Regions from separate parts of the Homo sapiens genome. Here regions 2, 3 and 4 are each linked to region 1. The links are contacts of gene promoters, found by promoter capture Hi-C in human tissues and cell types (Jung and others, 2019). All regions are on one chromosome and are shown on one strand. The core of a region is centred on a gene start or on the middle of the fragment in contact, and the rest is flanking DNA. Distances in the headings are between cores, read along the strand shown. Region 1 holds the start of DCTN6 (dynactin subunit 6). Region 2 overlaps LINC02099 (long intergenic non-protein coding RNA 2099). Region 3 overlaps LINC02099 (long intergenic non-protein coding RNA 2099). Region 4 has its middle 22 kb from the start of LINC02209.

Region 1 (6,110 bases), core at 1,891-4,390:
CAGAAGGGTAAAGATTCTTTCATTAACATGTCTCTCCATCATTTCTATGCCAGAATCTTCCCCCCAAGTATTCCCTAATATACATGCAAAGTAAGATGAAAACTATTTTTAAGATTGTACCAACTTCCCTACTGGTGTGATGAACTAAAAAAAAAAGAAGACATACACAAATTTTTCTTCCACAAATTAGGGTGGACAAACCTTCACACCGCCATGAATTTTTAAAGCTCTAAGTAAACAAAAAAACATGTATCAAATAGAAAAAACTAATAATCCCTGAGTCTATCTTCAAGAAATGGTTTTGAGAATAGACACAGCTCCAGCTGTTTCCATCATTTTGTTAGGCTCTGACTTTTTATAAGGCGTAAGTCAATGAAATCCTACCAATGGTCCTTCTGGGTGATACAGCCTGTCAAGAGTCAATCTGGGCCAGGTGCAGTGGCTCACGCCTGTAATCCCACCACTTTGGGAGGCCGAGGTGGGCAGATTCCTTGAGGTCAGGAGTTCGAGATCAGCCTGGCCAACATGGTGAAACCCCATCTCTACTAAAAATACAAAAATTAGCCAGGTGTGGTGGTGGGTGCCTGTAGTCCCAGCTACTCTGGAGACTGAGGCAGGATGATCGCTTGAACCCAGGAGGCAAAGGTTGCAGTGAGCAGAGATTGTGCCACTGCACTCCAGCCTAGGCAACAGAGTGAGACTCCGTCTCAAAAAAAAAAAAAAAAAAAAAGGAACCAGGCATGGTGCAAAGCTTTCACTGCACTCCAGCCTGAGCGACTCTGTCTCACAAAAAAAAAAAAAAAAAAAGTCAATCTACTGAAATAACAGAAAATATGTAGCCCTCCTGCTGTATTGAAGAAGAAAGATTTTAGTAAGATTAGAAGAAAATCACCTGGTCTAACCCTCTCATATTATAGAAGAAAAAACTGAAATTCAGAGACTAGAAATTTCTTGGAGCAGAGTTCATTCCTGGGGCATCACTGTCCTGAAATCAGTCATCTGTCTTCTAGTTGAAAGTTTTCTGGAAACATCCTGTCACTCCAGATGTTTTTCCATGATAAATGAGCGACACTGTCCTTGAATGTATCACCAGCTGTAAATGTCATTTCTCTGATACTTTTCATTTAAAGTGGGTTTTTTTTGTTAAAATATGCAATTTTATTAAGCCCTGGTCAAATACATTAGCCTCTATAAAATGTCTCTTGTTTTAGACCTTATTTCTCATTGCAATTTTCCATTTCCTCAGCTTCCTTCTCATTATGAAAAGAGCATTATCTAACATTGAACTTGTCCTGGGCAACTGAGAGTAGGAGAGACTCACAAATGCCCCCTGCCTTCAGTTTTACGCCCAAGGGAGAGATCCCAGGTAATGCTTGCGTCACAATCAGCACACTTCTCAGTGGGGCAGGCCACTAGGCCAACTAAAACGTGGTCCCGATATCTCTGCAAGGACCCCTTGTATCTCGGAGTGGTGGGAGCAGAGAGGTGAGCCGGCAGATGGGAGGGCAAGACTTAACCTCAGATCTGTAAAAGTAACAAGTCAACAATACCTTAATCTTCACTGTAAGCTACTATCTACTGCTATCTACTGCACATAATATTTATAGTACATCTGTTCCTCTTTAGCTTATGAAAAAAGATTACAGAGTATCTACTTAAATGGAAGAAAAATCTACATTTTAATTTATGGCACCAGAAACAATGTCAGTTTTCTTTGTCAAAAATAGTCAGCAGAGGGAGCTCAACACTGCTGCTGTTCGAAATGGCTTTACTTATGCACTTGTCTCATCCCAGCCACCAACAGCCACCAACAGCCCCCAGCAATGAAGACTACCGGAGAAGAAGCCAAACTTCCTGTCCCCACATGTTTACAAAGGAGCTTGTCCACTCCACGCCTGGCAAAAAATGTCACAGTTCTAAGCTTATACACTATTGGTGGGAATATAAATTAGTTCATCTATTGAAAATAGTATGGTGATTTCTCAAAGGACTAAACACAAGTACCATTGGACCCAGCAATCCATATAGAGCTACCAATCCAAACGGAACTACCATTCGACCCAGGATCTACTCAAAGGAAACCATTGTATTAAAAAGACAACTGCACTCCTATGACTATCACTGTACTATTCACAATAGCAAAGTATGGAATCAACCTAAGTGTTCATCAACGGATGACTGGATAAAGGAAATGTGGTGTATCTATACGATGGAATACTACAGAGCCATCAAAAAGAAAGGAAACATGTCTTTTGCAACAACATGGATGGAACTGGAGGCCATTACCTTACGCGATAACTCAGAAATAAAATCAAATGCACATGTTCTCACTTTTAAGTGGGAGCTAAAATGAGTACACATAAACATAAAGAGGGAAATAACAGACACTGGGGACTCTAAAAGCAGCGAGGGTAGGAGGGGTTTGAGGGCTGAAAAATTACCCATCTGATACAATGTTCACTATTTGGGTGGTAAGTACACTAGAAGCCAACTTCACCATTACGCAATTTATCTATGCAACAAATCTGCGCAAGTACTCCTTGCATCTATATAATGTGTGTGTGTGTGTGTCACAGTTCAAGTCCAGGCGCGGCCCCCCTTTTGACAGCGACCGTAAATCCCTTTACACACCCCACCCTCCAGAGACAGGAAGGGCCTGGGGTGCGGCCAGCACTGGCGTGGGGGTCTCGCAACATGCAGCAGAGAATCCAGCGCCAAGCCGTGGGGTACAGCGGCGCCAAGCACCGCCGATTATGCGGGAGAAGGGAGCCGGCCTTCCCCAGGAAAAAGCTGACGTCACCCTCCCCTCACAGCCCCCCCCGCCCTCCCGGCCGGGAGACCCCCTCTGCGCAGGCGCATGTGGGGAGGGACGGCCAGACAGGAACAAAAACCTTCCAGGCAGCGACTCCGCGTCCCTTCTCAACCCTCCCCGCCCCCACTCCGTCGCCCCCTCCCTCAGTGGACGCCAGGTCTGGGCTTCAGGTACCTTCGGCCCGAATGCCCAGGATGAGACACCTTCTGAGTCGCCACCATTGGCGACCAGGAACAGGTTCCACCCCTACGGAAAGCTGAGAAAAGGCTTTTCTCAAGCAGCAAACCCACCTCTTTTGAGTCTTCTCCGCCATGGTACGGCCCCAATTGGAACGTAGATCGACACCACCGCCTGGGTAGAGCGATAATTCCACATGCGATTGGAGAGCCTGGCAGGGTTGGGGGAGGGGCGGAGCCGGGGTGGGGCGGGGACCCGGAAGCTTGCGACTCTTGTTTGCGTCGCGTCTGGGCGCACAGGACTGTACTTTTGGTAGCGGTGCGGGGCCGCCCGCGGACTTTAGCCCTGCATAGAGATGGGTAGACCCTAATTTGGAACAGCCATTGACTGGGCACAGGCCAGCACTTTGGGAGGCCGAGAGGCCGAGGCAGGAGGATCGCTTGAGGCCAGGAGTGCCAGACTGCGAGACTAGCCTGGGTAACATAGTGAGACCCTCTCTTCAAAAAAAAAAAAAAAAAAAAAAAAAAAAAGCCTGTCACGGTGGCCTGCGCCTGTACCCCAGCTACTCGAGAGGATCGCCTGAGCCCAGTGAAGCTGCAGCGAGCTGTGAGGATGCCACCGCACTCCGGCCTGGGCTAAAAAGCTAGATCGTGTCTCTGATAAAAGAATAAAAGCTGTTTATTGCAATCCAGTCCGCGTCATTATGCCCTCATTTTACCCACTCGCGTAGGCGTAATTACACCCTAAAGGTATTTCTCTGACCTCGCCGATGTCCTTTTCAGCCTGTCTTTCTCTACTCATTAGGGCTCCTTCTGGCCCTTTTCTCGCTCTATATGAGTGCATCCTTCCTATAGGTTAAGTGCCCTCTACCTGTTTGCTCTCTAATGAATGTCTCTGGTTCTGCCCTCTGTGCCGATCTTCACACCTGACATTCGGTTGACTAATTGACATCTCCGCTCAGAGTCGTATCGAACCTAAAACTTACAGAACATGACTTTCGATTAACACTGCCGTCCTCCCTGCAACCTGCTGCTTTTTTGATCCACACCATTTGCCTAGCTGCTCAAGCCAGACACTCAAGAGTCACCCTGGCACTCCTCACCCCTACATCTGTAATAGATCTGCAAGTTCTGCTTGTCCTACCTCGGGTCTCATGCTTACACTTTTGTCTACCGGACCATCTCTCTAATCTCAGCCGATGTGTCTCTCCCAGTTGTTCACTCATTCTGTACTTGGCCTCTGAAATCACACCTCCTCATCTCCCACCCCCAACCCTGATCCAAGTAGTTCTCTTGTAGTCAAAATCATCCTTTAAAAGACAAATTGAGGCCAGGCGCGTGGCTCAAACCGGTAATCCCAGCACTTTGGGGGGCCGAGATGGGAGGATCGCTTGAGGCCAGGAGTTGGAGACCAGCCTGGTCAACACAGCATGATCCCGTCTCTATATATTTTTTCTATAATGTATTTTTTTAATGGAAAAAAATTAAAAATAAGAGCCAAATTCAGTTATTTCCCCTTCCTCTTAAAATCTAAAATCCAAACTGCTTTCCATAACCTATCTCTGAGCTACATCCAGCCCCTGCCTACTTCTCTCTTTCTCTTTCTATGTGTTCGATCACACCCTCATTCTCCAAAAAAGCAAAGCTGACTCTCCACCCCCAACCGCTTCCACTTGCCCCCACCCTAACACCTTCTGACCCTTTATGTCTCGGATGTCACATACTCAGTTTCCAACCAGAGAAACAGAACTAGTAGTAGATGGATATCAAAAGGCTTATTGTAAGGAATTGGCTTACATGATTGTGGAGCCCCAGCTAAGCAAGTCCAAAATCTGTACACTAAGCTGGAACTCTCATGCAAGGGGTGAGGCTGTTGTTCACAGGAGGAATTTCTTCAGGGAAGCCCATCTCAGCTCTTATGGCCTTCAACTGATTGAATCAGGCCCACCCAGATTAGCTAGGATAATCTCTCTTCCTTAAAGTGAACTGATGATGGGCTTTAATCACATCCACAAAAATACCTTTACAGCAGCATCTAGATTAGTGTTTGACTAATGACTTGGGAATGTAGCCTAACCAAGTTGACACAAAAAACTGACCATCACACTCAGGGAAACCCTCCTTGACTGTCTTAGTTCTTTCTGGCTGCTATAACAAAATACAGTTGGCCCTTTGTATCTGTGGGTTTGACATCTGTGACTGGTTGACAGCAACCCACGTTGGATCAAAAATTTGGGGGAAAAAATTACGCAAGTTTCCAAAAAGCAAAACTTGAATTTGCTGCATGCCAAGTGCTACATTGAAGCCACATGAATGAAGTGATATGTAGGAATTGTATTAGATATTCTGAATAATATAAAGATGATTGAAAGGATATGGGAGGATATGCATCAGTTAGTTATATGCAAATACTACACCATTTTATATCAGGGGCTTGAGCATCTGCAGATTTTGGCATCAGGGTGTCCAGGAACCAGTTCCCCAAGCATACTGAGGGACAGTTATACCTTAGACTGGGTATAGTAGTCCTTTCTTATCCTCGGGGGATACATTCCAAGACCTCTAGTGGATGCCTGAAACCACAGATAATACTGAACCCTCTATATACTATGCACACATTTCCTTTTCCTCATTAACAGTTTCATGGGTAAAAGATTTATTCTTACCATAGATCTTAGCAACCTCAGCATATAGTTTTTTTTCTTTCCTTTTGAAATCAAGAAGTTTTCACATTTTCACTTAAAGCATTTTACAGTTTCTCTTTGGCAGATCCAAATCACCTGCATCGCTACTTTTGTGCTTTGGGGCCATTATGAAGTAAAATAAGAGTGACTTGAACACAAGTACTCTGATACTGCAACAATGTATCTGATAACTGAGAAAGCTTTAATGGGCAGGTAGTACCAACAGTGTGGATACAAAGGGATGATTCATGTTCTTGCCTAGAGAGAGCAGCATGGTACGAGAGTTCATCATGCTACTCAAAATGGTGTGCAATTTAAAACTCACAAATTGTTTATTTCTGGAATTTTCTATTTAATATTTTTGGACTGATGTTGACTACAGGTTACTGAAACCACAGAAGATGAAACCATGGATAAGTGCGACTACTGTTATTTATA
Region 2 (6,110 bases), core at 1,708-4,207, 380 kb after region 1:
GTGTTCTCTCCCAGATGATGCCCCAGCAGAGATGAATGGTGGCCCTAGGCTGGAGCACCCCTGACCACGTTCCAGTGACAGCTTTGGGGAAGTGTAGATCTGACTGGCCCATCCTGGTTCAGGGCTTCCTCTCCACCTCTGCTTCCCAAACCCCTCACCCTCTCACAGGGACTACAGAGCAGGGGTTCTGAAAAGAACAGGGAAATTGGCTACCCTGTCTACTAAGTGATAGAACTATAACGAGCTCTTGGACTCCTTTTCCTGTGCTTTTCCATTACACTGGGCTGTGTCCACATGAACACTCAGAAGTCAAGTACAAGTTGAAATGGGAATTTGGAATGGGGTTTAGGACGAGAGAGAATTATCTGTTTCTTAGATCTAAAACCTCATGCTTTGTTCTGGGCCTTCCATCTGCCTCTGTTTTGTTTTGTTTCTCAGACTCTTTAGATGGATGAGGGTGGCCTGTTTATTGACTTCACCTGAGCTTCCAATGGCTAGCTTGGCATTATTCTAGAAACCTGGCTTCACTAAAATAAATAATAATGAAAAGAGTTTTTCGGCAATTCAGCAATCTTCTCAAATCGACTGTAGAATTTAGAGCTGAAATTGAAAAGACACATTTGGTCGGACCTTCCCCACCTTCATTTTACAGATGGGGAAACTGAGACTCTGCGAGATCAAAAGGACTAACGCAAGTGATCCTAAAATCTAGTGGCAGACATGAGGCTAATGAAGACTCTGTTCCTGATCTGCTGCTGCCTGAAACAGCTGCTTACAACAGCTCCTTCCTCGGGCCTGGAAACCAGATGTGAGGACATTTGGGAAATGATAATCCACTTGAAAAGCTGACCAGTGGCCAGGCCTTCTTTGCATGTTTCTGAAGAGCCCAGATAGTCATTGCCTTCCTCAAGGACAGACAACATAGTCTGCCTAGCCCACCGAGCTGCCAGGAGAAGCCAAGTGTCAGAGGCTTTAGTCCCTGGCGTGGCTCCTCCACTCCAGAGAGGAGCTGAAGGCAATTCTCTCGGTGCCCCGTAGCAGCAGAGAAATCTTTCTCCAGCCCTCGTGTACATCCTTGGGACAGAAACACACAGCCATTCTCCCTGCTCACAGCCAGGCCCCGTCAGCATAGAGAAGCACTTAGGGTTCCTTTGTGGGGTGCAAATCCAAACATGCAGTGATTTAATTTTTCTAACAACAGCATTTCTAGTCTTCCCACAGCACTAATCAGTTGCCACTAGAGCATCTCTTGCTTCCAAACATTTCCCTTTTTTTTTGCTTCTGGGAAAGCCCACAGTTCAGGACCCTTATCCACTTGGATGGCAATTCCATTCTTTGGCTTCTCTGGGGTAGATCAGACTTAAAAAAAAAACGAAAGCAAAAAAATCAAGCTTCCTTACCTATACCTATCTCTTCACAAATTCCTGTATCATGTTTGATTTATTTATCAGCCATGAGTGGATCCCACACTGCAGGACCCTAGGCAGTAATGGATCACCAGAGGGAAGAGATACCCTTTGCAGGCCACTCCTGACTTTTCTCTGCAGCTAGTGGCCTTGGGTCAGAGTCATTTTCCTCTCAGCAGGGCAGGTATCTCACTTGTAAAAGCTGAAGAATAGAAATGTTGGGGCCATAGTGATAGTCATCAGTTGGTCTACTGTGCAGTTTCAGGGTGAGGGTGGCAGCCACATTAACTACGAAGTCAGTGGCCTCTGGAACTGTGTAATACACACCTGCACACCCATGCAAAATGGCCCACTTGGTACCAGAACTCTAAATGCGAAGTTTTCCCAAGAGTTTGCACTGTGGCCAAGGAAACCCAGGATCCTGACTGGCCTGGCTTTTGGAATAATCGTCAAGAACCAGGGCTATGGGTCAGAGACTTTGAGTTTGAATTGCAGCTCTGCCACTTCCCAGCAGTGAGGCCGTGAACAAGTTAAATTTAGTAAGTGCTCAATAAATCTTTGCTAATTCATCATTATTATTCCTACTGCTACAGTGATCCTGTCTTAACCAGAGGCTGGCCCACCTGTGTGGCTCTGGTTCTCCCTCTGGCTGAATTGCACACTTCTGCACTTGGTCTTAGCCAAGAGGCCAAGAAGCAACTACCATTGCACACTTCTGGCCCTGAGGTGCATCTCTAGGTTTTAGGGCCCTTTCCAACTCACCTTGTCCTTGGTTATCTGACACAGGAAATCTGAATTCCTCCTCCTAAGCCTCATCACCCACCTTTTCCATAGCTGCCTAATGTCTTTTCATGGAAAAGTGTTTTGGCAGCAATTTGAATGATGAACTAGCCATTGAGTATTCACGAATAAATGAAGCAAATCCAAAATATCTTGCAATGAACACATTCATTGCAGCAATTGACCAAGCTGTCTGAGTCTTAAAATGAATCCAAGGTCTCCTGGAGATATTTTTTGCTTGTCTTTTGGTGAGATTTGCAGACAGAGCCTACTCCAAATATTTCTGAGTCTGTTGTTTAGTGCTATTTTGAGTGCTTTCACATGTGGAATTTATTCCTATACTTAGCTCTTACCCAGCACCCTGGGGTACTTGAAAATGTTTTCAATTGACCAACTGTAGTGTATTAACAAAACCTTGCATGTGCTTTGCAAAGCACTTAAATCCAGCTGACTTCCTATCTCAGCCTCCTTTTCCGGCATAATCTCCAGCCCAAGCTGTGCTGACCACACCTTTTGCAAAACTTTGACCAAAGAATGTGCCCAGCTGAGGATTGCCAGATCCCACAGACAGCATCAGGTCCCTATTATTGAGTGAGCCACAGAAATAAAATGCCATTGATGCCAGAAAGTGGGCTCTCAGAAAAATTTCAATTGGAGAAATACAACAGAAACATACACAATTAGGAGCATTGCCCAGTGTCTGGGCAATGTAGAATTTTTTACCCAAAGCTCTGTCCTTCTGTGTAGATAAAGGATATCGCTTGTCAAACAACACAGTGGCAATGTTCTGACTTTCTTATGCTTAAGCATGAACAAAAAACCTGGAGCTCATACCTCCACTCACCTTTCTTTTCTAATTGATCAAACTAAGCATTCTGACTCAGCGTTGTCCCGTGTCTAGGAAAAGAGAAACAGTTACCCACCCGGGAAACAGCGAAAGAGTGGTGCCTTGTAGTAAGGCTCTTTATATAACAAGAACGCAATCTGAAACTCCTAAGCCCTAGAAGATTTAGCCCAAATTAAGGACCTTGTTAGCAGCTGATTCCCAAGCCCTTCCTCTCCTTTCATTTCTTTTGTCGACTTGCAGCAAGCCACACAAAAGGAATCTCTTTCTTCTTCTGCCCACAGATTCCTTTCTCAAAAGCCATTCTAAGAAATAATCCAATTCTGTCTCAAATATAAGGGCTTTCATTCTCAGTCCATTATACTGTTTATCTTGGGAATTTCTTTCCAGTTTTAGGTTTTTGTTTTTTTTTTTCTACCCAAAGTTAAGCACATGGCTTGCACTGTGAGGAAGATTGTACTAGTGGTAGGAAATAGACCACCATCTTGGTATTGTGATCAAGCCACATGGGTTCTGGGCCCCGCGCTTTGTAAGCATACTTGGCAGAGGAAAATATATTTGTACTAAGAGGCAAATTATCCACAGTCAAAATGACTAATCATTGTTTAACTTAAATGTGAAAGATAATGGAGAGAGGAATGTAGCATTTGTAAGGAACTGAAAGACTGAATAATGTATTAGCAGGTGAGGTGTGGGCCTGTGAGTATGGACATATACCCATGGTATGTTTGTGTGTGGGGTTTATGTAAAACATAGAAAGACATATCTACTTCTGCAAAAATAAATCAAGAAAATATGCTATCTACTGCTACACTAGCATCACTACAGCACCACTATTAGCTGCTTTAACAAACAACCCAGGCAAGCTCAGTTTTTCTTAATTCCTTTAAAAATGTTTTATATATTTGAAATATCATATAATGGTATTTTGCTGACAAATCATAGAATCAAATGGCAAAATTTTTAAACACAGATAAAAAATTAAAACCATGGTGCAACACATAACACTATAAAATCTCTACTTCTGACTACTTCACAATTTAAAGTGGTGGTTTGTTATGCGAATAAAACCTATTTTGAATTTGCCCTATGAAAAATGACACAGAGATCAATAGTAAACTTTTTGGTGCTTCAAATGGGCTCAAATACATCTTGTTAGAATGGAGAATATCTTAGCATGGCTGATAACACAAAGGCAAATGATCCAGTAGTGTAGAGAAGGAAAATTGAAAGAGATTTTAAATTTGCTCATTCTGGTCTAGGGGAGGAATATTTGCCTGCTAATTTGCTCAAGGGCTGACATTCATGGAGCAAATTTTTCATCTTCGTGTTTCCATCTTAGGGAATTATTCTGGAGACTTCATATGCCTCCACCTCCACATCGAATTGGCCATCATATCCTGCAGAATTCACCTCTGAGGAGCTCTGGGACTCTCTCCTTTCCCCTTTGACTGCCATTGCCTTAAAACCAGCCTGTGGCATCTGCTTCTTAGGTTGCTATATTCTGTGCCTCTAACATCGTTCTCAACCCATTCTCCCTGCTCCAGCCAAAGAGAGCCTTCTGGAATAGAGAGCTACATGCCTTTTAACTGTTTAAAAACGCTCGGTGGGTTCTGGTTCTGGTCAAAATGCATGAAGCACATACCACTTTGTCTCTCCCACTGAATGCAGTGAAAATCCCTGGAGAAAATGCAGGGAGCAGCTACCGGCAGACACAGAAAAGTAAAACAATAACAGACAGATTGGGGAAGAACTCCAAGTACTGCAGAATGGGTAGCAGATGTAGTTGCAGGAAGAGCACAACAGAACAGAGAAATTAAAGCCCTGTATTTCTAGCCTGTGTACCCGGAAGGGGACCACCTACAAGCTGCAAAGTGTTAGGGAGATGCCAGAGAAGAGGGAGCTCAAGGAAGGGATCCTAGAAAGATGTAGATGAACTCCTGGGCTGCACATACCCCTGACTACTTAGTAAAAATCTCTGCTAAGGTGCCGGAACACCTGTGCACGTGGCTCCCACCTCAGGGGCGGCCTGCAAATGATTAGGCAGTTTCCAGAGCCCTTGGCATTGGTGCCAGATGAACCAGGGTTCAAATCTCTGTTCTGTGGGTCATCCTCCTCACCAGCTGTGTAAACCAGACAGCCAACACCCTCATCACCCTCTCTAGGCACAAAAAGAATTAACAAGAATTTGGGGGCTGAGTGAGTAGTGACAGAAGAGATTAGAAAAGTGTTCTACGAAAGGTGCCTGCTTTGGTTGGGATATGGTTTGTTTCCCCCACCAAATCTCATGTTGCGTTTGATCCCTAGTGTGGCTGTGTTGGAAGGTGGGACCTAATGGGAGATGTTTGGATCATGGGGGTGGATCCCTCATGGGTGAGTTGATGTCCTCCATTGGGAGTGAGTGGGTTCCAGGGGTTTGTAGAGGAAGTGGCTGGCACATTCCCTGGGGCTGGAGGACAAAGGAAGGGAGCAGAGGGAGGCTGAGACCCTGGCTTGCCCACAGGCCACCTACATGTTCAGGACACAACTGGGCTGGCTGGGAATGGGGATGAATGACCCGTGATGGCGGCAGCAGTACTCTACGGGTTCTTCCTGCACATGCACTCTGATCAGGGACACATGATGGCAGAACATACAGAGGGCCATATGGAGTTTTGTGTTCTCTTTCCAATTTCTGCATGTATCCTCAGTCTTAACAGTAGAGTCTCTGTTTCCTTAGCTGACATTCTAACTGCCCCCTAGACAGCCCCACCTGAGTCATCCTTCACATCTGTGCACCCAACAACCCATCTTCCCCTTTTTCCAAAGAGGCCCATTAAAGGTTAGTGAAAGTCCAAGAGCAGCATTTCTTCCCATGTAGTGTGGCAGGAAATTCTTCTTTACATTCATGCACTCTTTTTCTCTCTCTCCTGTGAAACTTCATAAAAGTCTACCCCTCTGGCCCCTCATTTTCCTTCCCCTTTGACTTTCCCATCTTGAGTGTCTCTGCCAGTGCCATCTGGCTGCCTCAGGTTCTGTTGTCCTTTTTGTTCACTCTGGACCCTGCTCTCCTGTTCACCTCATTTCAACATGTGCTTCTA
Region 3 (6,110 bases), core at 2,061-4,560, 360 kb after region 1:
GTCCCAGTTTCTCTAGTAACAAAACAAGATCATTCATGAGCAAGTTTGTGCAACTTCTGGATCATATTCTTAAAGGGAGGGGCATCCTCTTTCCTTGCCGCTTTCTGGGATGGGAATGTGGACAGGGTGTGGACTCACTGAACTATGTGGATGCACATCTGTACACTAGGAAGGCAGAGAACCACAGGAAGGGATGGAGTCTCCAACAGCATGGAGCTGCCCTAGAAGGTCCACACTGTATCATCCCTAGATGCTTACTCTTAGACACATGGGACTAATCACTTCTGTTGTGTTTAAGCTTTTTAGAATTTGGGTTTCTGCTACAGCAGCAGAATTTCACGTCTCCTCCAGGAAGACTTCCTGGCTCTTCCCTTCTTGAAACTCTCTACCATGACCATAAAATCTGGTGTGTATTCATTTTCACTTTATTGCTTCCTTATTCGTCTTAAAATCTTTTCACTTTATTGCTTCCTAATTCATCTTCTTTTACCAGCTAGGCTTTAGGAGATGGACCGAAAATTATACCATGTAATTTATAAGTGCCAATAAATACACTTTGGTGATGATCTGACAGGAGGGGTAGCTCAGTCTGTAATGTGAGCAATGGGAAGCGACTGTAAATACAGATGAAGCTTTGCTTGCTTGCCCTCTGCTCAACTCCTGCTGTGTGGCCTGGTTCCTAATAGGTCATGGACCCATAACGCTCTATGGCCTGGGGGCTGGGGACCCCTCTTGTGGAGCACCCTACATAGCTACACAGATATATGCAGGGACGAAGAGTGGGTTTACAGAGAACACACACGTGTGCATGTTTATCTACCATTTATTAAGTATCTTAATCATATCTCCTCCACAGAGAAGCAAACATCCCCCTATTCAAGGTTAAAAGAAGCGTTTGTCTTTGAAGCCCCACTAGAGCAGTTATCTCTAGTGAACTAGGGTTTTTAATGGCCTTTCACAATAATTACAAATTTAATTAACCTCTCTGCTTTGATCAGTCACGGCTGTTTCTCATTACCTTCCCCAATGCCTGTTTCTGAGTCAAGAGCTATTCCTGGGCCTTCCCTTTCCAGCTATAAAGTACTGTTTAGGTTTAATTTAGTCTGGCACAGCTGTAAAGAAAGCAACTCTCCTGCTCAACAGCCTCCAATGACTCCCCGTTGACCACTGAATTAAGTACAAACTCCTTAGCCCGGCATTTGGGCCTTCCACAGTCTGGCCCCAGACCCCCTTCTAATCTCATCCCAACTCTTCCTGCACTTGCACTTTGTAGCTCGTGTTTCTCAGCAGGCCCTTGTCTTCCTGATTTGGGGTCTTACTTCTGCAGCTCCTTCTGCCCAGTCACTTGGCCACCCACATCCTACACCTGCCCCTTGTTGAACTCTCATCCTCCAGGAAGCCTTCCCTGCCAGCTCCCTCTCCAGTTGAATCCAGACCCCCACCCCCTGCCAATCACCTGGGATCATATTACTCCCTGTTCTGATTTTTCACAGAAATTCACACCTTCTCATAATCCTGTTCTGAATGACAGTTATTGTGCATTCATCTTGTTCTCTCTCATTAGACTGTAGATTTTAACAGAAGGAATATCTTACCCATCTTTGTGCTCATCAGCACTTAAAACATCACCTTAACAGCACTACCATAACCATTTCAGAGGTCCTATTTTGGTCCAAGCACTTTGCTAGACACTTTAAATAAACTGTTTTTCTTATCTTCGCCAGGCCAGATTAGGAAGTGGAACCTCAGACAGGTCAAGTGACTTTCCCAAGTTTGCAGCCAGGAAGCACCTACTGGGTTGTGTTGGGGGAAGGGCTGGGGACAGTGACATTGTGCTTGGCAAGCACAATTGCTTTCTGTTGCTACTACTGACCACACTTTTCAGAATGTGGGCCAACATCTCCAGGGAGAACAATGATAAGTTTGCTTCTGAACCTCTGGCAGGGTGTAAGCACTGATCTTCAGTAATAAACCATAGCCTGTGATGTTAGTATCAGGTCTTCTGCTTTGATGATGGTTTGCCAGGCAGTCCTCTATCACCCTGGAGTTGGAACTTTCTCAGCTACTAGAGTGTCCCAGAGTATTTGAGCTCTGTCCCTATAATTGGTCATTTCCCAGGTTCTCCAGCAGCTCATGAAGCTTCTTTAGCAGTTAATGCTGGAAGTTTGAGACCTCTCTCTGGAGCTCCCTTCAACCTCTGAGATGAGGTCTTCATCCTCTACTCTGGGTAGGAGAGAAGATGCTTACCATCCTGAGTGAGTCACACCTGGAAATGGCCAGGAACCAAAACTGCCTGGAGGCAAAGGAGATGTGAAAGGGATCCCAGCAGAGCAGAAGGCAGACTTCACACCTCTTCTTCTTCTTCCCTGATGCTTCCTGTGGGAGCAGCTGGGCATTCTCCAGATTCTGTTTCCTGAAGCTTACCATCCTGGTCCAGCATCCCATGGTCATGACCGCCTAAAACTTACCGGAAATGGGGAGGAAGAGGGCTGGGCTCAGCTCAGCGCTACTTGCTCAGGGAGTGTCCATGTGAAAGCTAGTGTGTGGGGGGAGCTAATGAAGGGAACTGTGGCACACACAGTCCAGGTGGGGTGCTCCAGTGGGCAGAGGAAGGTCAGGGATTGTGTTGGGGCATGGAGGTGTGGAAGCGGGGAATGATGCATCAAGCTTGCTTGACTGACAGTCACATTCGCTTGCTCCATACCACCTTCCTTTATTAGGTAAAAATGTGCTTTTTTGGCATGGAGGGAAACAGAAAAAATGAGATGGCTATTTGGGGGTGTCCTATGTTTCCCCACTCTTATGCCCCAGCTTTATCATTTACACTCCCCACCCACCCATTTATCTACTCCCCCCACCTCTGTTAACAGGAGTGGATCACAATGGGCTTTGGTGCTGCAAAGTGACCTCATGTAAGCCTCTGGCATCTCTGCATTTTTGTTCTCGTTTTTATAAAACTTCTATTTTAAATTCAGTGGTGCACGTGCAATGTATTGTATATTTCAAAATAGAAGAGAGGACTTGAAATGTTCCCACATAGAAGTGATAAATACTGAAGATGATGGACACGCAGATACCCTGACTTGATCATGACACATTCTATGCATAATTGATACATAATACTTTTACATATTGATGGGGTACATGTGATACTTTGTACCTCATAAATATGTAAAAGCATTATGTATCGATCAAAAAAGTAAAAAACATAAGAAATTTCTAAAAATACACCATGATTCATGTCATGATCCTTCTATTATTGACTGATAAGATTTTTTTCTAAATTTGTGTTATTATGAATAACATTGTAAGAAACTTTTTGATATGTAATTTCTTGCCTCCAACACTGATTTCTTCTTTGGGAAGGATTTCTAGAAGGGAAATTAGTGGACCGATGATGTAAAGGTATAAAGATGTAAAGGCATTTGATTGCTTTCCCAAGAGGATGAATCTCTACATATCTCCACCCACAGTCTGTGAGATTACCCATGCCAGACAAAGAGAATTACTGCCATCATGAGTATTATAATTCTTTAAAACATTTGCCAATTTGAAAGGAGATGGAATACCTCTCTGTAACATTAATTCCTGATTCTTTGATTACAAACAAGAGCACCTATATTTCTTTTTCTAACCATTGATTTTTTATGAAATGTCATTTGTGTATTGTTTTTATTTATTAAAGAAAAATGTAATATTTTATTAAATAATTTAGGAATTATTTATAAATTTTTATGTTGAGATTTTTAATTTGTTCCTTTATCCCTTTGTTCATTTATGAATAATCAACAGGTGCCTACCATGTGCCAGACACTGCTCTGACTAGACCCTGGGAATACTGCTGTGAATAAAATAAAGTCCCTGTCCTGTAGTGGGGTGGTGGGAAGAGAATGGATAAATGATGATTGGTGCTAAATAGAAAAGTAAATCAAAGAAGGGGCTACTGAGTACTGGGAAATGCAGTTTACAGTCAGATGGTTAGATAACTTCTCACTGAGATGACTTTCTTAAAGAAAGGGAAATCACAGGAAAATTAACAAATAAGCCATGCAGGAATTTGGAGGAAGTGTTCTATGCAGGAGAAACAGCAAGTGCAAAGTCCCAAGGCAGAAACACATCTGGCATGTTAGAGGAGGAAGAAGGAGGATGGTGTATTTGGAGCAGAGTAAGAAGGGAAAAAAGTAGTTGAAGATGAAGTCAGAGAGGTAAATGGAGCCAGAATATGAGGATTCTTTTGAATCACTCTGTAAACTTTGACTTTCTCCTCAGAATGAGCTGAAAGACATTGGAAGTGTATTAGTCAACTATTATTGCCTAATGCTGCATAACAAGCAATCCCAATTTTCAATGGTTTACAAGAACCAACTTTATTTTTCGCTTATGGTTCTGTGGGTCAATTGTGGAGGCTCTGCTTCAAGCTGAAGATTGGGTTCCTGATGGCTTCAACTGCCTCTGCATTCTGAGATGGAAGCTGCCAGAGCATGCTCTGCTAATGGCAGATAGCAGAAAGACAAGAGGGAAAGCCGCCAAACCAGCAAGCACGCTGAAAACCTCTGCTCACATCCGTTGGTCTAAGCAAGTCATTTGACCAAGCCCAATATCCATGGGGCAAAGATGTAATACAATCTTCCACAGAAGGTAGAGGAGTAGAGAGGTGAACTGATTTTTATGTTAAAAAATTACTTCTAGACCCACAAACCATCACTAGTCTAAACCATGTTTAGTCGATAGTCTTTTTCAGATGCAATATCCCACATTCTTAAATATTTTAAAAATTGTTAATGAGGTAGAAATAGCATAAGTCCTATCACAATTAATATCCTCTCCCACTACTCCCTATCTATAAAAGCAGAACCCTGGAAGCAGGAAGAGAGAATCATTGCAAGTACAAGTTTTCACCTAGCAGGAAGTGCTGTGCTGTGGAGATAAATAATGCTTTCCCACTAAAAACCACATTAAAAAATTAGGGATCCCAGCATCCCACTTGGATATTTATGCAGTAGGTTTGCTGATTTGCCCCTTCTGCTAATTTGGGGAGTAGAAAAATATAACAATTGGCATTATGTTTGGCCGAAAGTAACAAAATCTCAACTATAAAGGGCTTAAACAATAAAGTATCCATTCGTCTCAGGCAAAACATATCTAAATAGGCAGTCCAGAGTTCACAATGTCATCCATATCCCAGCCTCTTTCTCTCTTTGTACTCTGCTATCCTTGGCTTGTGGCTTTCATCCTCAGAGTCACAAGACGGACATTACATCCACATTCTAGGCAAGATGAATGGAGAAAGGGCAACAGGCTAAAGGGGGTCTACTGGTTCAGTCTGTGGCCTTTAAAAACATTCCCCAAATCCCTTCCCGATAACCCTTATTAAAGCAAGCGGGAAGGGGTTATGAGTAGCTCTTGGGTAGCCAATCCGAAGTGTTTTCAACAGAACAGAGGATAAGTGGAGAGAGATGATAGAACAGGGAGCCATGCATGAAAGAACCAGCACTCCTACTATTGGGCATGGCAAAGATTATCAAATCTCTAGGGATCGATTGGCACCAGAGCTAGTGATCTGGCTTGAAACTTCCTGTCTAGGGAAGGGCATAGGGCTGGTCTTGCTACCTGTGCCATAGTCAGGAATGATCCAATTTCATTTCCTTTTTTAAACCAATTTAATTTAAAAATATTTTAATGGACTTTAATTTTTAGAGAAGTTTTAGATCCATAGCAGAATTGAGCAGAAAATACAGAGTTCTGTTCTGTTATCCTGACCGCACACCTGCAGAGTCTCCTTCACTATTGACATTCTGCACCAGAGTGGGACATTTGTTACAATTGATGACCCTACATTGACATGTCATTCTCACCCAAAATCCATAGTTTACATTACAGCTCACTCTGGGTGTTACACTGACAAAGACTCCTGATCCTTGACCAAGCTGTTGTTATGCTCCTCTGAGTCCTCTTCTTGACTAGGCCTCGACCTGGGCCTCCGGCCTGTCCTTGCTGGGCTTGCATCACTCAGTAAGTATCTTGTGGCTGGGCGCGGTGGCTCACGCCTGTAATCCCAGCATTTTGGGAGGCCAAGGCAGGAGGATTGCCTGAGCTCAGGAGTTTGCAAC
Region 4 (6,110 bases), core at 1,686-4,185, 260 kb after region 1:
ATTTATGTTCCTCTCTAAACTGGCTATTGTAGTTAGCAATTCCTCTGATCTTTTATCAAGGTTCGTAGCTTCTTTGCATTGGGTTAGAACATGCTCCTTTAGCTCATCGTAGTTTTTTTATTACCCATCTTCTGAAGCCTACCTCTGTCAGTTCATCCATCTGATCCTCTGTCCAGTCCTGCACCCTTGATGGAGAGACGTTGTGATCATTTGGAGGAGAAGAGGCACTCTAGCCTTTTGGGTTTTCAGCATTTTTTCATTGATTCTTTCTCATCTTCGTGAGTTGGTCTAGTTTCGGTCTTTGAGGCTGCTGACCTTTGGATGGGGTTTTTGTGGGGGCTTTGTTGTTGTTGTTGATGCTGTTGTTGTCACTTTCTGATTGTTTTTCTTTCAATAGTCAGGTCCCTCTTCTGTAGGGATGCTGCAGTTTGCTGGGGCTTTACTTCAGGCCCTATTCATTTGTTTTGCTCTCATGCCTTGAGATGTCATTTAAGGAGTCACCTCCCTTGGCTGTGGGGAGGGGCTTCCCCTTCCCTGCGTGGCTCTCAGGTGGGCCACCACACCACACTGTTCTTCCTTCTGGGTCATGCCAGCCTTCTAGTCAATTTTGATGACAGAACCTGGATAACTTGGTTGCTGGTGAATGATTTACACACTTATTGTGGTTTTTTTGATGGGAACCTCCAATCACTGCTGCTTCTTGTTGGCCATCTTGGTCTCGCCCCCTACAGTATTTGTTTTATAGTAGCAGGAACAGAATGAGATGGGGTCTTGCCCTGCTTCTCTGCCATGGAGTCTGTCTTGCTCATCTGCTCAGTAGAACTTTTTTTTTTTTTTTTTTTTTTTTTTTAGCAGAGACTGTGACTCACTCCTGGGGAAACATTTCAGCTCTGGGCTTCCTAGAGGAGGCTTCAAGACCTGCTCTTTTTCCTAGACTGGATTTTATGTACCTTCTATTACTCACACAATATTCTGCATATTTTTTGCTTTCTTTCTTTCTTTTTTTTTTTGTTTTTAGACAGAGTCCTGCTATGTCACTCATGCTGGGCTGCAGGGACACAGTCTTGGCTCACTGCAACCTTTGCCTCCTAGGCTCAAGCCATCCTCCCACCTCAACCTCTTGAGTAGCTGGGACCACAGATGTGTGCCACCATGCCTGGCTAATGTTTTTGTATTTTTGGTAGAGATGAGGTTTCACCATGTTGTCCAGGTTGGTCTCGAACTCCTGAGCACAAATGATCCACCTGCCTCGGCCTCCCAAAGTGCTGGGATTACAGGTGTGAGCCACTATGCCCAGCCCTTTGCAGATTTCTAACATCATTCTTAACACAGTTCTTATCATCATCATGATCATCATCATGATCTAGTTTTCAGAGCAATGTTTATATACTATTTCTAATATACAAGAAAAGCAGAAAAATAATATATCATATACCAATGTACTTGCCATTTAGATTTTCCAAATGTTAATATTCTTTTTATTAGGATTTATAAAGGAATAAAACATTACAAATACAGCTGAAGTCCCGCCTTTCCATCACATTCTCCTCCCTCTGTCTTTGGGCAGAAGTAAGCTAATAATAATTCAGGATGTTAATCTCTGGAGTGTGTGTTCTTGGAGTGCAGCACTATATCTTATTCATCTGGAATTTTTAGCTAATAGCAGTGCCTGACCCTAGAAGAGATAAATAAATATTCAGACAATTAAAGAATAAATGAATGAAAGGGATTGTTTTTATAATAATAATAAAAATTGTTATCCTTTGCCATATCTAATAGGGGCTCTGTAAATGTTTGATGAGTTTGGGAATTAATAAAAAAGTTTTGGTCTCTTACTGAGAATAATTTGCCCTTAGCTCTTAAAAAAAACTCATGTTTTGGCATCTTTAGACTTTGTGTACAATGTAATTTTTAGGCTTCATATGCAAAATATGCAATATAGAAACATGATCTACCTTAAGAAACTTACAAGGCATGTAGAATTAATTTCAGACGCAAGAAAGAAAAGATGTGTGATTGCATGAGATGTATTAAGAAAGAAGTCAACTAAATTAATGTCACTAGAAACTCTTCACATTTGATTTGAGTGGAAAATATTCTAGATCACCAGTTCACAGAAGCTGTTGTCAGGAAATGCCAGCCCCAATAACCTGATGCACATGGAGGTAACACACACACACACACACACACACACACACACACCCTCTGTTCATTTGTGTCTCTTCTTCACTGTGCAGGTCCATGAAATCTCCTGGGGACTGTGAAGAACTGGGATGGCTAGTGTGAAAAACAGCAGTCCCCAACAATTTTGGTACCAGGGACTGGTTTCATGGAAGACAATTTTTCCATGGACCTAGGCACGGGGTGGGGGTGTGGGGATGGATTGGGGATGATTCAAGTGCATTACATTTATTGTGCACTTTATTTCTATTATTGCATTGTAATATATGATGAAATAATTATACAACTCATCATAATGTAGAATCAGTGGAAGCCCTGAGCTTGTTTTCCTGCAACTAGATGGTCCCATCTGAGGGTGATGAGAGATAGTGATAGATTATCAGGCATTAGATTCTCATAAGGAGTGCACAATCTAGATCCCTCATATACACAGTTCACAATAGGGTTTGTGCTCCTATGAGAATTTAATGCAACCATTGATCTGACAGGAGGTAGAGCTCAGGTGATAAAGCAAGTGATGGGAGCAGCTGTAAATACAGATGAAGTTTTGCCCCCTTTCCTGCCATTCACCTCCTGCTGTGCTGCCTAGTTCCTAACAGGCCACAGACTGGTACTGGTTTGTGGCCTGGGGGTTGAAGACCCCTGGTGTAGAAGAACTAGAATTTTAGCTCTTGTTATAAGAAGCTTCTCATGGTAAGTTAATACAACCAACCACCCAGCAGGCACATTTTTTTTTTTTCCTGTGGGACACTAGCAATCTCTTCCATGTTTCCATGTCTTCTTAACCACCTGTTTCCTTGATGGAAGGATATTGATGTTTCCACACAGATTTGGAGTAAAAAGCTTGGTTTTATTCATTTTCCCCTCTGAATTAGGGAAGCTTTTCAAAATGAACATACTGAACAGCAAATTATCATCCCATTAAGCGCTTAAAATTATAGGCAGCTGAGCCAAACCTGCTACCAGCCCCCGCCACCCCTTCCCTGGATACAGTCTAACAAGCCAGCTACAAATTCCAGATGATCAATTTGCTTAGCTGTGATGGTAATTTAGAAACCCAGTGTTTTGCTTCAAAGTCATTGAGAGGCAATCTCGAATGATAGGCTGTGCTTCATGCACTCTTTGGCAAGAAATTTACTTGGGCTCTCGTGTGCTTCTTGGTTGGGTGTCCAGCAGTTCTGGGCATCAGAAAGGAGCCCTGCACCATTGGTTACTGCTGCACCATGGAATGACTTTCTGGTTCTCCTGCTGCTTGCACCACCACCACATTTTCCCTAGATATAGTTTCTCCATATGAACTGCAATTGTTTTCCAGTACTTTTTTGCACAAGTCAAGTGGCCATGACAAGTAGGGTGCGTGCTCATATCTGTTAACTCCTTAATTTAATTAATCCATTCAATGCTTGCTGAGCACCTTGTATGTTTTGGGCATTGTGCTGAGTGCTGAGGATTAAAAGTTGGGTCAGAAACAGTCACTGCCCGCAAGGAGCCCACAGTCTAGCAAGAAAGAGAGACATATAATGAAAGGATGGCAATGCACTGGCCTATCCTGGAAACAGAGACAAGGTGCCACCATGAGATCTGTATTGATCAAGTATGTTCTAAAGAACATAAGGCACTTTTCCAAGAGTCATATTTCTTCTATCCTCCCCAGTTGGTAGGGCTGTGTAATTGTTGTCTGCAAAGGTTAAATGAAAGCCCATTGATATAGTTTCGCTGTGTCCCCACCAAATCTCATCTTGAATTGTAGTTCCCACAATTCCCACATGCCATGGGAGGGACCTAGTGGGAGGTAATTGAATCATGGGAGCAGGTCTTTCCCATGCTGTTCTCATGATGGTGAATAAGTCTCATGAGATCTGATGGTTTTATAAAGAGGAGTTCCCCTGCACAAGCTGTCTCTTGCCTGCTGCCATGTAAGACATGCCTTTTGCCTTCCACCATGATTGTGAGACCTTCCCAGCCACGTGGAACTATGATTCCATTAAACCTTTTATTCTTTATAAATTACCCAGTCTCAGGTATGTCTTTATCAGCAGCGTGAGAATGGACTAATGCAGCCATACATGATAGAATGAGTCTCCAGAAATTCCAATTTCCCAGTATTCTCTGTATGCTCCCCTACATAGTAGACTCCAAATGAATTGGATTCACTCACCATCCCCCAAAGACACATTGCCCTGCCTTTCTTCTGTTCATGCTCTTGTCTCTGCCTGGAATGCCTCCTTCCTGTTGCTGTGTTTAGAAATCTTGGCAGTACTTCAAGGCCAGGCCCACTTTGCTCCAAGTTCCTGGAGTACTTGGTGCTATTTAGAGTAAGGAGCATGGAGCACGTGGCCGTGCCTGAGTGCTTTAGGTTCAGCTGAGTCCCCATTGTGGACTGTGAACATCACAGGGGCTCACAGTCCCTTGGAGAACATAAAGTGCCCCCATACAATTTTCAGTAACCACTTGTTCACTGAATAGGAACGTTTCAATATCAAGGATAGAAAACTCAGCTTTGATTTTCCTGGCTGAGCTGTTACCAGGAAATTCCCTAGACTCACAGTTTGAATCTCATCACCCCTAAAGTGAGGAGTATTTACAAGCCTAATGACAGAGTTTCATTATCTGGAGACAAGACCTGGAGGGAGATAAAAAAGCTTTGTTTCTATGTTCTGTTTTCTTAGGGTAGAAACATTCCAAATAATTTTATGCCAGGCCAGAAAAGAAAGCTTTGTATTAAATATGGAGGACCTGCCTCCAAACAGAGGTGTTGACTCTGATCTAAAGTCACAGACATTGCTGTGGAAATTTTCTTGTTACCAGCTTTGTGCAGCCGTGGTTGGAGGGTCATTCTATCAGCCCAAGGGGGTTCCAGTCCCGCAGCTTGTCAGGAGATGCTGGTGAGTGGAAACAGAATCCTTCATCCTACAAATCACAGATGTGATCTTGACGGTCACGTTGGTTGGAGTCTTGAGATGCAGGTCCTCAATACCTATTAACCTCACCAGGATATGGTAACCTTTGTCTTCTTTGTCATTTTCATAGTTAACGTGGTAACAATGTTTGATAAATGACAATGAGGAGTTAATTCCATTGTGGCATTGAAAGGGAATACACATGGTTTTTAGCTTGAGAGTCCTACAACTTAACAGAAAAAGACAAGAAAAGCGCACATTCCAAAGGCATGAAGACAAAGAACAGACACCCCTAATTCCATATGGTTTGGATGCTCTGCATTTTGCTCCTGGCTATGCCAGGTAGTCACTCAGGTTGGTGGGGTCTCGGTGCCTGGGACACCCACCAATAACCATTTCTGTCTGGTCCTATGATGGTGTTAGATTCTGCAGATAGTCCTGGTTCTGAGAATACCAAAGGGATCAAAACACAGTAAGTAGTCCAAGCCAGTATTGTTGATTCCAAGAAATCACTTGGTTAATTGTATTGGCATTTATAGGACATATCGAAGAGCTGGAAGTAATGTAAGTGACGTGGATATCTGGGTGATGGCAAGTATGATGGGTGGGGATATTGACTATGTTAGGTTGGATGATCTCATAGCCTGATTTTAGGATGATGGTCCTGGTTCATGTGGAAGATATATGAAAGGTTAGAGCAAAAGTCTACTGAAGGCCAGGGGCAGTAGCTCATGCCTGTAATCCCAGCACTTTGGGAGGCCGAGGTGGGTGGACCACCTGAGGTCAGGATTTCGAGACCAGCCTGGCCAACATGGTGAAACCCATCTCTACTAAAAATACAAAAATTGGCCAGGCATGGTGGTTGGCGCCTGTAATCCCAGCTACTCAGGAGGCTGAGGCAGGAGAATCGCTTGAACTCGGGAGGCAGAGGTTGCAGTGAGCAGAGATCATGCCATTGCACTCCACCCTGGGCAATAGAGCAAAACTCCATCTCAAAAAAAAAAAAGTCCTCTGATGTAAGGCTCAAAG

Evidence for each region. Contacts are between HindIII fragments. The study calls those that stand out against the background at their distance.
Region 2: a contact is called between a fragment that was not itself captured here and the fragment with the promoter of DCTN6 in region 1, in 2 of the 25 tissues and cell types used here (IMR-90 fibroblasts and lymphoblastoid cells).
Region 3: a contact is called between a fragment that was not itself captured here and the fragment with the promoter of DCTN6 in region 1, in 1 of the 25 tissues and cell types used here (mesenchymal stem cells).
Region 4: a fragment that was not itself captured here is called in contact with the fragment with the promoter of DCTN6 in region 1 in 1 of the 25 tissues and cell types used here (aorta).

What each region holds. Positions count from the first base shown.
Region 1 is chr8:30,153,399-30,159,508 of GRCh38, reverse strand. DCTN6 (dynactin subunit 6) reads right to left here and starts at 3,140. Exons shown (of 7, transcript NM_006571.4): 1 at 3,103-3,140. The coding sequence starts at 3,125. DCTN6-DT (DCTN6 divergent transcript) reads left to right here and starts at 2,849. Exons shown (of 1, transcript NR_186490.1): 1 at 2,849-3,680. LOC124901927 (a long non-coding RNA gene) reads left to right here and starts at 1,399. Exons shown (of 2, transcript XR_007060880.1): 1 at 1,399-1,485; 2 at 1,627-2,337. RefSeq lists a silencer at 2,770-2,879 and enhancers at 2,940-3,089, 3,033-4,015, 3,840-4,049. The HindIII fragment of the contact is 3,226 bases long and covers 1,337-4,562 here.
Region 2 is chr8:29,775,230-29,781,339 of GRCh38, reverse strand. The region is part of intron 1 of LINC02099 (long intergenic non-protein coding RNA 2099); the gene reads right to left. Among named protein-coding and RNA genes, the nearest start is that of LINC02099, 30 kb to the right of the region's middle. The HindIII fragment of the contact is 7,253 bases long and covers 1-6,110 here.
Region 3 is chr8:29,793,188-29,799,297 of GRCh38, reverse strand. LINC02099 (long intergenic non-protein coding RNA 2099) reads right to left here. Exons shown (of 4, transcript NR_125815.1): 4 at 806-2,463. Among named protein-coding and RNA genes, the nearest start is that of LINC02099, 48 kb to the right of the region's middle. The HindIII fragment of the contact is 3,847 bases long and covers 1,387-5,233 here.
Region 4 is chr8:29,896,252-29,902,361 of GRCh38, reverse strand. No RefSeq gene overlaps it. Among named protein-coding and RNA genes, the nearest start is that of LINC02209, 22 kb to the left of the region's middle. The HindIII fragment of the contact is 3,848 bases long and covers 1,012-4,859 here.